Regions from separate parts of the Homo sapiens genome. Here region 2 is linked to region 1. The links are contacts of gene promoters, found by promoter capture Hi-C in human tissues and cell types (Jung and others, 2019). All regions are on one chromosome and are shown on one strand. The core of a region is centred on a gene start or on the middle of the fragment in contact, and the rest is flanking DNA. Distances in the headings are between cores, read along the strand shown.

Region 1 (6,972 bases), core at 3,648-6,147:
TTTAGAGCTGTACCAAAACAAAAAGCCTGTACTCACATCACAATGTCATTTTGATAGGAGCGTTTTGTTATTTTTACAAGGCAGAATGGGGTGTAACAGTTGAATTAAACTTAGCAATCACGTGCTCAGAGCTTTTGCCTGTCAGTTGTGTGTGTCCCTTATAGTCCCTTCCCCCACAGCTCTTGCTGAAAGAGTTTGCCTTGTTTTGTTTTGTTGTTTTGTATTTAGCCAGAGGATGCCAAAATTAGTCTTCTCAAAGCTTTGAGTAGAGTAAGTGTGGGAATAAGCCAGTTTTTTTTTTTCTGTTTCTGTAACTTAAATGAACGGGTTTTTTTCCCTTGTATGCCACTTGTCCTAACATGTCCTTAAGGTGTTTAACCTGCCTCTGACCTGGCTTGCAATGCATAGGTGAGGAGAAGCAGAGAGCTTGTCATATGCAAGTCCTGTCAAGAAAACAGGTGGGCATGGTGGCTCAGGTCTGTAGTCTTTGGGTCTTTGGGAGGCCAGGGTGGGAGGATCACTTGAGCTCAGGAGTTTGAGACCAGCCTAGACAACATACTACGACCCTGTCTATACAAAAAAAAACTTCTCTAAATTAGCCGGATGTGGTGGTGCATGCCTGTAGTCCCAGCTACTCGGGAGGCTGAGTGAGGCAGGAGGATCACTTGAGACCAGGAGGTTGTGGCTGTAGTGAGTGATGATCATGCCACTGCACTTCAGCCTGGACCACAGAGCAAGACCCTGTGTAAAAAAATAAAATAAAAAACAGATTGGATGTCTTTCTTCTGATGTATTAGCTATTTTCATATGTTTTCTAACATACTTAATATCCTTACAGGCATTATGTGGATTCAGGGTAAACTTCTCAGACTGTGAGCCTGAGAGTTCCTCTCTAGGAGGCTCCACACCATTCTGCCTGCTAGATCGGGGCCAGATGAGATGAAAGTCAACGCTTGAGAAAGAAAACCAACATGCATTAACTGAAACACCGTCTTCACTTGTTCATCCACAGGGTATAGAGCGAGTTCCAAGAACCAGGCTAGGAAATGACACGCTAAGTTTCCTATTTCTAGCAGCTGCCAAGGCCACCAGCAAGCATGGGAACCTCTGGGAGTCACAGCTCCTCCGTCTCCAGAGGCCTGGCAGTGGCCAAGTCTAGAAGGACGCGGGTGCCACCTGGTACAGGGTGAGGGTGTGAATAACAGACCCCGAAGGGTTGCCACCTCGAGCCCCGTGCCTTGTCCAGGAATACACAGGCTCTTTTGATGTCAGGTAACTTTGCCATATGATCTTTGTGGTGTACCTGGTAGGTCACACCCTGTGAGTGTGTAGATGCCTCCTCCCGTGCTGGCTGCTTAATTTCTTCTGCACTCATAATCCTGACCATCTTGAAGATCATCACTGAAATACTCCTGTGTAATGTGTGGCTACAAAGTGCTATCTAAAGATGCTCTCTCAAACTCAGCTCATGAAGATGAGAGGAACATCACAGGGAACTGTGTGGCTTCTTAGCAGGCATCAGGGCAGATACTTAGAAATTAAAGTTGAATTTTAGAAACTTACATTTTATATTTTAATGCCCATCTTACATTTTAAGGTATTTTAGTGAGAAAAAGTTGCATCCCAAATAGTATTTCTGAATCTGAAAGGAAGTCAACTCCTCTGTTACTAGAAGTTCGTTCTTCTTTTTTTTTAGACAGAGCCATTCTGTCACCCAGGCTGGAGTGCAGTGGCACAATCTGCTCACTGCAGCCTCAACCTCCCAGGCTCAAGTGATCCTCCCACCTCAGCCTCCCAAGTAGCTGGGACTGCAGGCATGCACCACCACGCCTGGCTGATTTTTTTTTTTTTTTGGTAGAGTCTGGGTTTCACTATGTTGCCCGGGCTGGTCTCAAGCTTCTGGATTCAAGCGATCCTCCCTCCTTGGCCTCCCAAAGTGCTGGGATTACTGGTGTAAGCCACTATGCCCAGCTGTAAGCAGTTCTAATTCAGCACCAACTTTCAGGAGAAGACCAGTTGTATGATTCCATAAGTGTCAAGAATTATCCAGCACCTTGTTAAAATTTCATTTTAACCAACTTAAAGTAACAAATCTGTGCAATCATGGTAGTGATAATTAATCAATTGAGTTGATGGCCAAGTCTGTTGGCCTCTCCCTGTGGTAGCATTGTTCCTACTGTAGTGTGCTACCTCAGGAATTCAAAGGGCTCAAGTTTCTCAAAGGTATAAAGCAGAAGCTTTAAACATCCCCCAAAATGCAAGCTTGCTCTAACTTGTTCACCAGGAAGAATTATAGATTACATCTGTTTGCCCAGCCTTATCATTTTCACTTTATGGAACCTCACAACTCTCCGTAACCTTTATCGCACGTTATTTGCTGGAGATGGCGCCATGCTCCTTTCATGGATTAGCTGACATTCCTAATAGGCTGGATATTTTAGGCTGTTTTGCAGGCTTAGAAACAGAGATTTGGGGCCAGGCACGGTGGCTCATGCCTGTAATCCCAACACTGGGAGGCTGAGGTGGGTGGATCACCTGAGGTCAGGAGTTTGAGACCGGCCTGACCAGTATGGTGAAACCCCCATCTCTACTAAAAATTACAAAAATTAGCCAGGCGTGGTAGCACATGCCTGTAGTCCCAGCTACTCGGGAGGCTGAGGCAGGAGAATGGCTTGAACACGGGGGGCGGAAGTAACAGTGAGCTGAGATGGTGCCACTGCACTCCAGCCTGGGCCACAGACTGAGACTCCATCTCAGGAAAAAAAAAAAAAGAAAAGAAAAGAAATGGAGATTTGGCAAAATTAAGTCACTTGGGATCCCAGGAAATTGGAATCTGAGGCTGAATGAAACCTCTTAGTGGGATGGTTGAACATGTATACGGCAAATTATGTTGCAAGTGGAAAATGTGAAAAACACAATAGAGCCTGGCATGGTGGCTCACACCTGTCATCTAAGCACTTTGGGAGGCCAAGGGGGAGGATCGCTTGAGGCCAGGAGTTCAAGACCAGCCAGAGTAACAGTGAGACCTCTGTCTCTACAAAAATGTTTTTAAAATTGGCCAAGCAGTGGTGGCTTACACCTGTAGACCCAACTACTTAGGAGGCTGAGGTGGGATCACTTGAGCCTAAGAGTTCAAGTGAGCCCTGATCATGCCAGTGCCTCCAGCCTGAGCAACAGGGTGAGACCCTGCCTCTAAAAACTGAACAACAAAAAAAATCAGTAGGGTGTCAGCTACGGGAGTTACTGTTTCGGTGCAATCAGATTAGGATGAGAGGATCTGAACTGATGAGCATTGCAGTAGGTGAAAGACGGTAAGTGGCCATTTCTATTAGCATTAAATAGTCACTGATGTGGTTTCATCAGGATTCACAATACATGTGTGGCTCCCAAATTGAGTTTCAAAGTCTTGGGTTCATGGTGTCCCCTGCCCAGCAAAATAAAGTGCAAATCTTACGGAGCAACACATTTTAAGTTCAGGCCTCAAGTACTTCCAGAGACAAAAGTCCTGGGGACACTGGCTCAGAATGGGGGAAAGGGGACCCTGGGCCAAGAGTCAACCAGGATGACATGCAGAATCAGACCTGCAAGGGCTGCAGATACTGTAGTTATGAGGCACACCCAACGCTTAAAGATAAATATGTGGTTGGAAGTATAAGAGCCTATTAAAACTGCTAGAATATAAGAAATCAAATAGGACAAAAACAGAATCATTGGCAGGGTGCAGTGGCTCACGCCTGTAATCCCAGCACTTTGGGACGCCGAGGGAGGCGGGTGGATCACTTGAGGTCAGCAGTTCAAGACCAGCCTGGCCAACATGGTGAAACCCCGTCTCTACTAAAAATACAAAAAAATGAGCCGGGCGTTAATAGCGCGTGTCTGTAGTCCCAGCTACTCAGGAGGCTGAGGCAGGAGAATCGCTTGGACCCAGGAGGCGAAGGTTGCAGTGAGCCGAGATCGCGCCATCACACTCCAGCCTGGGCGACAAGAGCGAAACACCGTCTCAAAAAAAAAAAAATCGGTGCAATTAATAACCCAGTGGATGGGTTAAACAGATTGCACGTAGCTGAAAAGTAACCGAAAATCTGGACTGGCGCGGTGGCTCACGCCTGTCATCCCAGCACTCTGGGAGGTCGAGGCGGGCGGATCACTTGAGATCAGAAATTTGAGACCAGCCTGGCCAACATGGCGAAACCCCGTCTCTACTAAAAATACAAAATTAGCTGGTCTGTAATCCCAGCTACTCCGGAGGCTGAGGGAGAAGAATCACTTGAACCCAGAAGGCGGAGCTTGCAGTGAGCCAGGATCGCGCCACCGCACTCCAGCCTGGGCGACAGAGCAAGACTCCATCTCAAAAAAAAAAAAAAAAAAGAAAATCTGAAGCAGTCAGTGCAGTAGGGAGAAGTGGGCGAAAGGAAGGAGGCCACGCTGCTGGGTTTCAGGATGAGATGGGCGTTGAGGGTGCATTCACAGAATCCCGGGAGGAGCCAGCTGAGCGGGGAAGGCATCAGGAGAGGGGAGGCACTGAGCGGGGCGCGGTGCTGTAGGGAACGGAGGCTCATCAGGGCGGCCGGGATTGAGGCGCAGGCGCTGAGCCTTCACCTAAGTCCGCCGAAGTGTGCAGAGCCTGGAGACGGGATCGAGGTCACCGGAAGCCCACGGTTGCGGGGACATGATCAAGCTACAGCGCGCTGGGGGAAGCGACCACTGCCGCCCCGCGGATCCCACCGGCCTGGCCGGGAGCTCCCTCTGCCCGGCTCACCCGCGCTTCCGGCCCGAAGCCCGGCTTCCTCTGACGTCACGGCCCCTGCGCCCCCTGGCGGCGCGGCTGCGGCGGGACGCGCGGGCACCGCCCCCTCCGGCTGGAGGGCGGGACTTCCGGTGAGTGAGTGACGGGCGCAGCCTCGGCAGCGGCGGCGGCGGAGCCCTGAGGCGACAGCAGCTGCGGGAGGCGACGGGCTGCGGCCTGCGGAACCTGAGGCAGCTGGGGAGGGCCGGGCGCGCCGGCCGGATAGCGAGCCGCGCTGGCGGCGGCGGTGGCCGCGATGATGGAGATCCAGATGGACGAGGGCGGCGGCGTGGTGGTGTACCAGGACGACTACTGCTCCGGCTCGGTGATGTCGGAGCGGGTGTCGGGCCTGGCGGGCTCCATCTACCGCGAGTTCGAGCGCCTCATCCACTGCTACGACGAGGAGGTGGTCAAGGAGCTCATGCCGCTGGTGGTGAACGTGCTGGAGAACCTAGACTCGGTGCTCAGCGAGAACCAGGAGCACGAGGTGGAGCTGGAGCTGCTGCGCGAGGACAACGAGCAGCTGCTCACCCAGTACGAGCGTGAGAAGGCGCTGCGCAGGCAGGCGGAGGAGGTGCGTGGGCCGCGGGACCCGCCCGCATCCCCGTCCCGGACCCCCAGCCAGCCCCGGGCCCCGGACCCAACACCCGTCCCGACCCCAGACCCCGCTCCGGCACCCCGGACCGCGGGACCCCTGGACCCCCAGACCCCGCCCCGAGACCCGCCTGGACCCCATATCCCCCGCCCCGGGACTTCCCCACCCCCTCTGCCCGCCGTGAGACACCTCCCTAGAGCACTCCCCCGCCTGCCCCGGGACCCCACCCCGACTCCCGGGGACCCCCTTTTCCGCCCAGGCCTGGGCCCTGGCCCCCTCCTCCGTGCCCCCAGCCCTGAATCTTCAGCCCCAAACCCGATGTGCCTGGCGTCATCCCCGGGGAGCTCAGCTTCAAAGCCAGGCCTCACTCTCCCCTCCCCACCCACCTCTGCATGACAATTGCCTTTGCTTTCGTGCGTGTGTTCAGTCAAAACCGTTTCCCGACCCCAAGTGCTACCTCTGTTGGCTGCCATTCTAAACCCATCTAGAAAAGGAATCTTTTGGTGTTCTTAGGGGGCTGCAGCCGTCTGTGGATGATGTTGGAGACCTTTCCCTTGTCCCTAATCCCGTATTTTGAAGGTCTGTGACACGGGTGAATTGGGTGGTTGATGTAAACACAGAACAAGGCCGCAGGCGGGCTGCTCCTCTGTCAGCAGAAGGAACACTCGAGTTTCTGGAGGTGATGTCTTTGCCCCCTTGGTTCCTTGCTTGGCGAGATTGTTAGCTGATGTAGCCAGGGCTGAGAAACTCCACTCTGGCTTCTGAGGAGTTAACAGTCTGAGTTTGAAGCGTTTAATTCTGTGCTAGGATGTCTCCATAACCTGGAAATCGCTTGTCTGTGAAGCAGTTACAAGAGCCGGGCCCTGTGGGGAGCACCACTTAGCTTCATTCATTCACCGTCAGATACTGAGCTCGGCCTGCCTGTGTGTGGGCCCAGAACCTCGCCCTTTGTCAGAAACAGGTTCAGGGAGGCTGGTTCCCATCCCTGCTTTGCCTCTGTGACCTTGGCCTGTCGCCTGCCTGGGGTTCGATTTTCCATCAAAGGAGTGAATTGCACTAGGCGATCTCCAAGCCCAGAAATTCTCTCATTCTAGGAGTTAGGTAATGCTGTTTGACTTATGAATAGAAGTGTCTTAGGAAATGAGCTTCAATTCCTTTTCAATTAATTCGGCTTAACACATTCTTGACTTTAATAGGAAAATAAAAGATTGTGTCAGTATTTTGGCTTTTTCTGAAACCAAGGTGATTTATGGCCTAGTTTGGTTTAAAGCGTGTTTATAAAAATCATAACAGTATGTTGTATCATTCCTCCTTTCCTGTGGTTTCTATTGCGTTTGGGCTTCGTGTCTGTCGCGAGGTGGTTATGCATTGATTGGAATGCCCCGGTTCCAGCAAAGCTGAGTTAAAGCTCTCAACCTAAGGGAACGCAAAGGTTCATGGATTTTGGAGCTCAGGGTGACTATAGGCATTTTACTGGGAAGGAAACTTGTCCTGAGAAGTGGAGGGGCTGAACCAAGGTCACCCACCCCAGAAGTGCCCAGCCAGGATGCAGAGTGAACCCGACACCGGCCTGGGCACTTGCTTCCATGTC
Region 2 (6,933 bases), core at 1,377-3,876, 1.0 Mb after region 1:
AGTGGGTTCCCCTACAGCTCTGGAGGCCAGAAAGTGGAGACCAAGGTGTGGACAGGGTTGTGCCTCCTCCAAAGGCTCTGGGAGAGGATCTGCAGGGCCTCTCCCAGCTTCTGGCTCCTCCTGGAGATCCCTGGCATGGGCACCGCTCCGAATCTCTGCCTGGGTCTCCTACGGCCTCTTCCCCCGGGTGCCTGTGTCCTCTTGTCTTCTTGTAAGGATGTCAGTCATTGGATTTACGGCCTACCCTAAATTCATGATGATTTCATCTTCAGATCTTTAACTCAATTACATCTGCAAAATCTCTTATTCCAAATAAGGTCACCTTCCGAATGTCTAGGTGGTTGTGAAGTTTTGGGGCACCACCGTCCACCACACTACAGTGAATAAAAAAATAAAGTTTAAAGGGAAACTAAAAAATCATTCTAGGGCTGGGTGCCATGGCTCACACCTGTAATCCCAGCACTTTGGGAGGTTAAGGGGGGAGGACAGTTTGAGCCCAGGAGTTCAAGACCAGCCTGGGCAACACAGGGAGACACAATCTCTACAAAAAACTCCACCTCTACTAAAAATAAAAAAATGAGCTGGGTGGTGGCGTGCGCCTGTAATCCCAGCTACTTGGGAGGCTGAGGTACAAGAATTGTAGTGCGTGGAGATCGTGCCACTGCACTCCAGCCCGGGGTTAGGAGTGAGACTCTGTCCCAAAAAAATAAAATAGACAAAAGACACGAAGAGAAATTTCTCCAAAGATGTACAAACGGCCAACAAGCACATCAAAAGATTCTCAGCATCATCAGTCATTAGGGTACTGCAAACCATGTTTTGTCACTATTCACGGGCATTAAATGTGCTGACTCACGCACAAAACATTCCATAAAGAATATCAGTGGGGGTACAGGAAAGGGTCTCACTGGAGGTGCTGGGGTCTTTAACCAGAAAGGCAAAGCCTTTGCCACTTTACTATGCCACTCCAGAGTTGCGGCCGGCTTACAGAAGCACCGTCCATAGATGCAGAGTTCAGACACTCCAATCTGCGATCAGAGCTCCTGCAGGAGATGGGGGTGGTGGGGGGGAGGGTCTCCCGGCTCTAGCATCTGAGATAAGTACATCCTCCCACGGGCAAGTGAAAAACAAATCTTAAAGCCGGATACGGGCCGGGCGTGGTGGCTCACGCCTGTAATATCAGCACTTTGGGAGGCTGAGGTGGGCAGATCACCTGAGGTCAGGAAATCGAGACCAGCCTGACCAATATAGTGAAGCCCCGTCTTTACTAAAAATACAAAAATTAGCCAGGCGTGGTGGCACACGCCTGTAATCCCAGCTACTCGGAAGACTGAGACACGAGAATCACTTCAACCTGAGAGACAGGTTGCAGTGAGCCGACAACACACCATTGCACTCCAGCCTGGGTGACAAGTGCGAAACCACGTGAAAAAAGAAAGAACAACAACAACAACAAAAAACAAGGGCCAGATAGGGTGTCATGCACGGGTAGTCCCAGCTACTTGGGAGGCTGAGGTCGGAGGATCGCTTGAGCCCCAAATTCGAGAACAGCCTGGGCAAAACCCTGCCTCTTAAAAACACCCCCAAATCGTAATAACAAATATAAATCCTTGCACTCAAATGGACAGTTCATTACGTGGTACCGCGTCCTGTTGCGGATCAAGGCCACCTGAGTTGGTTAGGACAGCTAAGCGGGACGTCCAGGGCTGCTCGCCAGCGGTGGGTCTAGATATGAACTTGTGCTTGAGCAGCCCAGCGTCTTACAACTCTGCTGTGAGGACGGCTGGCTGATTATCAGGCCCAGAATCACGGGCTTAGAAACATTAACAGGAAGTACGGTACCGAAAAGTGGAAACTTTAAGGTGCTTATTATTTTCCTCCTGCCTTGTTCCTGTATGTGCCGCTTCACCGGTATCACGTCCTGGGTCTGGTGGGACCCCGGCCTGGCTGCCCTACCGGAAGCTAAGAAAACTCCTCCCCCAGGGGTGGCCGTCGGGCCTCAGCCCGGTCTACAGCGGGAGAACGTGGCCCATGCTACGGGTAACTGGTTGGGCCCCTGGTGCAGGTCTAGGGCCTGCAGCCAGGCTCGGGGCCTCCGGGGGTGCCCGCTGGCTGGGGTCTGAGGCGGCTTCTCTCGGGTACGGGAAGGCGGACTGCTGTGCAGCTGCGGGCTCGCTCGGGAAACCCAAAGTCACACGAAAGCGGCAGCACCACCGCGGCTGGGATATCGTCTCCCAACATGGGGAGACAAAATGGCCGCCACGCCCCGAGCCGAAATTACATCCGGGCTCCGCGACACGCCCGAACCACAACTCCCAGAATGCTCTGCATCGACAGCGGGAGACGAGACGCGCTCGGGCGTCGCTTTGCTGCCGCTAGGCCCTGTGCTCCTCCCCGCAGCGGAAGGCCTACGAATACGCGGTGTCTTACGTCGCTTCCTCCGTTCTTCGTTGCACTGGCCAACGGGACGCTTAGTCTTTCGGCAACGGGGTGAAACCTTCCTTGTGCCTGAAAAAACGGTACTTCGCGGTGTGGCTTCGGCGCCTGCGCAAAAGGCCGCGGGGCGCACTCCAGTTCCCGGCAGGCCCCGCGACGCGCGTTTGCGTGCTGACGCACGCAGTTAGTCGTGCTGACGTGCAGCGCGGCCCAGGCGGGGTGCGAGTGGCGCAGTTGGAGCCCGTTGCGGCCCCTGAGGAAGCGAGGAGGCGTCGGCGTCGGCTGAGGCGGGCGGACCGGCGAGGCGAGGCGGCGGCCCCAGGCCCGAGGGACTCGGGAGCTCGAGCAGCGGCGGCGGCAAGACCTCTCCCCCTCGGAGGCGGCGGGCGGAGGCGGCGGGTGAGAGGGTGAGGGAGCCAGCGAGCCGGGTGGGGGAGGGGCGGCGGCCCCGGCGCGAGGCCAAAGCGCGCGGAGAACTGCCCAGGCCGCCGAGCTCCTCCGCGCGCACGCGCGCTCGACGCCCTTCGCTGGCGCGGACGCCCTCGCCTCCCTTCCCCCTTCCCGCCGTTCCTGTCGCGCGCGGGCTTCACCCCCCCCCGCCCCTCCCCCATGACAACGGCGTTCGCAGCCGCCTGTACTCGGGTTCGCGAGCGCCCTTGGTGAGGGGGGAGGGCGCGCGCCTCGGCTTCACTCCTCCCCCCAACATGTGCCGCCGAGGTGGCCTTCCTGCAGCTGCCGTTTTCGGCCCTTAAGTGGCGGGGAAGGGGCGGCGGCGGGGGGCTTGCTCCTGGACCCTTGCCCCCGGTTCCAGATCTCCTTTCCTCGGGCTTCTCTTCGGCGTTGGGCTGCCCGTGTCGGGGGCCTCCCAGACTGCGGGACGCCGCGCAGCCCCCTCCCCCATTCCGCAAGGCCGAAAATAGGCCCCCGGCGCTGCGGGGAGGGCCTTGAACTTCGTGGGCCGGATTTAAATGGTTTAGGATTCCCGGCTATCAGCCTTTGAGTTGTTAGTGGCGGGGAGAAACCCCAAATCTTAAAAACTGTGAAGAAAGTGAACGTGTTCAGTTTACATTTGTAAGGTAGACCGTGCGTTCCCTTTTTACACTTTTTCAACGTCTCCCGAGAATTCGTGTTCAAACTAAGGAGGCTTTTGGAGACCTTCGTTGGGAAGAAAACGCCAGACTCATATATAAGTTTTCTGGTTGGTTTCAGGCGTTCTTTGGCACACAGCTCTTCTGAAGCTTGGTTTCCACTCGGCTTCAGTTAGGACGAATCTGGATCAGAATTTCAGAGTGTTGTGTTGTCTTTCATCCTAAGTGCGTGGGCTTAGGGCTCTTCTAAAGCTACTATTTTAGCTTTCTGGGTTCTTTGTGTCCACTCAGCCGCTCTGGAGCGCCCCGGTGCTGAGCTGGCTGTGCTTGCTGATGTCCATTTTTTTCGACAACCCTTGTCTCCCCTTTTTCTCCCCTTTTGGTACCGTTTTCTTTTTTGCATATTTTACTGTTGAATTCAAATATATCTTTCTACTTCATTGTTAGCTTACCACTCGGATAATTTCCCAACAGAAAAGGGTGTTTTTGTCTTCCTTTGTACTTTTTACTTTCTGCTTTTAACTTGGGTAACTTTTGCATATCCACTGTCTATGGCCCCCACTTTAAGAGTTTTGTAATATCGTTTGGTTTGGTGATTTGTGTGTGGTGTTGATCTTCCTACTTTCTGTGTCTTAACACACCCCTTAGATGCCGTGGGGTCGTCGTCTTTTTTTGTGGGGTGGACTAGGTGGCTCATTCCCTAAAAGTTCTCCGAAACATTGTGACCTAATATCCTTTGCTTAGCACCTACTGGTTTTTCTTTTTTTTTTTTTTCCGAGACGGAGTCTAGCTCTGTTGGCAGGCCGGAGTGCAGTGGCGCGATCTCGGCTCACTGCAACCTTCCGCCTCCCGGGTTCAAGCGATTCTCCTGCTTCAGCCTCTGGAGTTGCTGAGATTACAGGCAATCGCCGCCGCCCAGCTAATTTTTGTATTTTTGGTAGAGATGGAGTTTCACCGTGTTGGCCAGGCTGGTGTCAATCTCCTGATCTGGTGATCCGCCCACCTCGGCCTCCCAAAGTGCAGGTGTTACAGGCGTGAGCCACCGTACCCGGCCTGGTTTTCCTTTCTTAAGGAGTGGGGGGATTTTTGTGTGAGGTGGTATGGAAGTGTGGGTGAATGGTTAAGCTGAAGAATTAAGTGCAGGTCAAAAACATGCTGCAGGGGAAGCAGAAATTAAGTGGGGTAGGGGAGAGGCGAAGAAGGACCTAGTTTTAAACCGTGAGGAGGATTGGTACTAGAAGATGAAAATGAGGATTGGGGTGTAGAGAAATTGATTTTTTGAGCCATACAGTTTTTCATTTTTTCCTGGATTTCTGCTTGCCTTATCCAGGTTTAGCCTCTTCTGTCACCTTCTGCTTTCAATATTGGGTCTGCTACTGGGCTTGGGTAGGGACCCATCCTTAGGCGCATGCGCTAGTATATTTTTCCAAACATTTGTATGATGCTTCTTCATTCTGGAATTTTCTAAATGCATCCTTCCCTTCTATCCAGTTCTTTTACATCTTTGATTACTCTCTCCGCTTTACGTATTCCTTAGGGTTTTTTCTTAGTAGTATTTTCTCATATATGCATGTTCTAGGAAACTATCTTGGAGAGGATGAGGGTGAGAAAGAGAGTATATGTAATAGGAGAAAGGAATAGAGTATGTGTAGCCAAGGAATCTAACCAGGAAAGCTGGGACTTGAGAATTTTTCAGAATCACGTTAGGGTTGGGACAAGTTGAAAGGCTAGAACCTGGGAGGAGGCATGGGGTTAACACAGGAGAGAAGGAAGAGGCAGGGCTGAGAGAGAAAAACTAGGAAGTGCTATCCAGGGGATTGGTGGGGAAAGCCAACGGTTGGACATTAATGAAAGTGGGGTGTAGAGAGGGTTTCTACATAGATTTAGGGCAAGGTATATGGAGAAGGTATGGGAACGGTTGGAACAGAGGAGGCTGGTTTGATGTGTTTAAATAGAGCAGAGTTGAAAACAGGTAATATTTGACAGCTGGCAAGACAGGGAGGAACTGCAAATTGTTGTAAATCCTATTGAGAGGAAGGAAATTGAAGGAATAAAATATCAGGATAGTTGATAGGATCTTTAAATATTTGGAATCAAGGAAATGGCCCTTACCTGGGAGGTGAAGTATATGACGATTATCCAAGGTTCATGTGTGTTTCTGATGTGCATGCTGGCCTTTAGTTGGGGTGTGAGGCTGCACATTCTGAACCAACTAGTCTGCTGTTCAGATACCTAGGGGCTGTGTAGTTTATTTCATATTCGTATAGGGTGGTCTGAAATCCTTAGGTAAGTTTTTGGGAGAGTCTTTGGACATGGACTAGAGGCCGTTGGGTGCCACAGATCTGTGTCTGGTGTTTGTTGTGACCAGGAGGCTTTGGTTGGTTACCAGAGGTTAGGAATTAGAGTAGTTGGTAAACACACCACTTGTGCATTTTGGGGCCAAAGGAGAACAAAAAGGGACAGTGTGGAGAGATTTTAGAGGAACAAGATCCTTGTTTGCCTAGGGTGGAAAAAGAAGAAAATTTAGGTGTAGGGAGGGATTATTTAGAATTCTGTGCAAGGGCATTGAGAGAAAGGCTGTAAGAACTGGGCTGTGATTTGGTAGAAAGGAAATTTGGAAGGGCAAAGAAGTGGTTTTCTTGGGAGACCAGGAGGATGGTGGAGCATTATACAGCGAAGACTTAGTGTGAAGATCAATGTTGAATTAGGGATGAAGGAGAGCAGGGACTTGGGTGTGGGGCGGTAAGTGGTTAGTTTGGGGCCAGGGGCCTGACCCGTGTCTCCCCGCTCCCCCTCAGGAGCGGTGGTGCCCCCCCCGGGCACGGGGCCATGTACAACGGGATCGGGCTGCCGACGCCCCGGGGCAGCGGCACCAACGGCTACGTCCAGCGCAACCTGTCCCTGGTGCGGGGCCGCCGGGGTGAGCGGCCTGACTACAAGGGAGAGGAGGAACTGCGGCGCCTGGAGGCTGCCCTGGTGAAGCGGCCTAATCCTGACATCCTGGACCACGAGCGCAAGCGGCGCGTCGAGCTGCGATGCCTCGAGCTGGAGGAGATGATGGAAGAGCAGGGGTGAGGGAGAGCTGGGGGAGAGTCAAGCACTGAATGAGTGCAGAGCTGGGGGTGTTAGGTGGGATGTATAGGGAGCTTAGGGTGGTTGAAAGAGGCCTGGCAAAGAGTTGTGGTAGGGGAGGAGGCAGATGAGCTCTAGAGAAGTGAAAACAGTTAAGGGACAGTGCAGAGTGGGAAATGAGAAGGCTGTGTGTCTGGGGCATAGATGGGAGCCTGAGGTACTAAATGGAGGCACGTGGGAGAAGGGAGGGGCCATTGAGGAACAAAAATGTGTTTTAAGGAAGAGATGGGAAAGCAGAGACCAGGTAGAGGAGCTAGGTAAGCTGATAGGTGTTGTC

What was found. Contacts are between HindIII fragments. The study calls those that stand out against the background at their distance.
Region 2: the fragment with the promoter of SRRM2 here is called in contact with the fragment with the promoter of MAPK8IP3 in region 1 in 1 of the 25 tissues and cell types used here (lymphoblastoid cells).

The regions. Positions count from the first base shown.
Region 1 is chr16:1,701,298-1,708,269 of GRCh38, forward strand. It overlaps MAPK8IP3 (mitogen-activated protein kinase 8 interacting protein 3), which reads left to right and starts at 4,898. Exons shown (of 32, transcript NM_001318852.2): 1 at 4,898-5,360. The coding sequence starts at 5,043. JPT2 (Jupiter microtubule associated homolog 2) reads left to right here. Exons shown (of 5, transcript NM_144570.3): 5 at 1-789. RefSeq lists silencers at 3,451-3,745, 4,652-4,991, 5,262-5,371, 5,392-5,441 and an enhancer at 4,229-5,093. The HindIII fragment of the contact is 16,634 bases long and covers 2,067-6,972 here.
Region 2 is chr16:2,750,012-2,756,944 of GRCh38, forward strand. SRRM2 (serine/arginine repetitive matrix 2) reads left to right here and starts at 2,627. Exons shown (of 15, transcript NM_016333.4): 1 at 2,627-2,835; 2 at 6,323-6,595. The coding sequence starts at 6,354. SRRM2-AS1 (SRRM2 antisense RNA 1) reads right to left here and starts at 2,589. Exons shown (of 6, transcript NR_027275.1): 1 at 2,431-2,589. RefSeq lists enhancers at 1,507-2,349, 1,949-2,118, 2,179-2,468, 2,350-3,192, 3,193-4,035 and silencers at 2,649-2,958, 2,979-3,038. The HindIII fragment of the contact is 13,386 bases long and covers 1-6,933 here.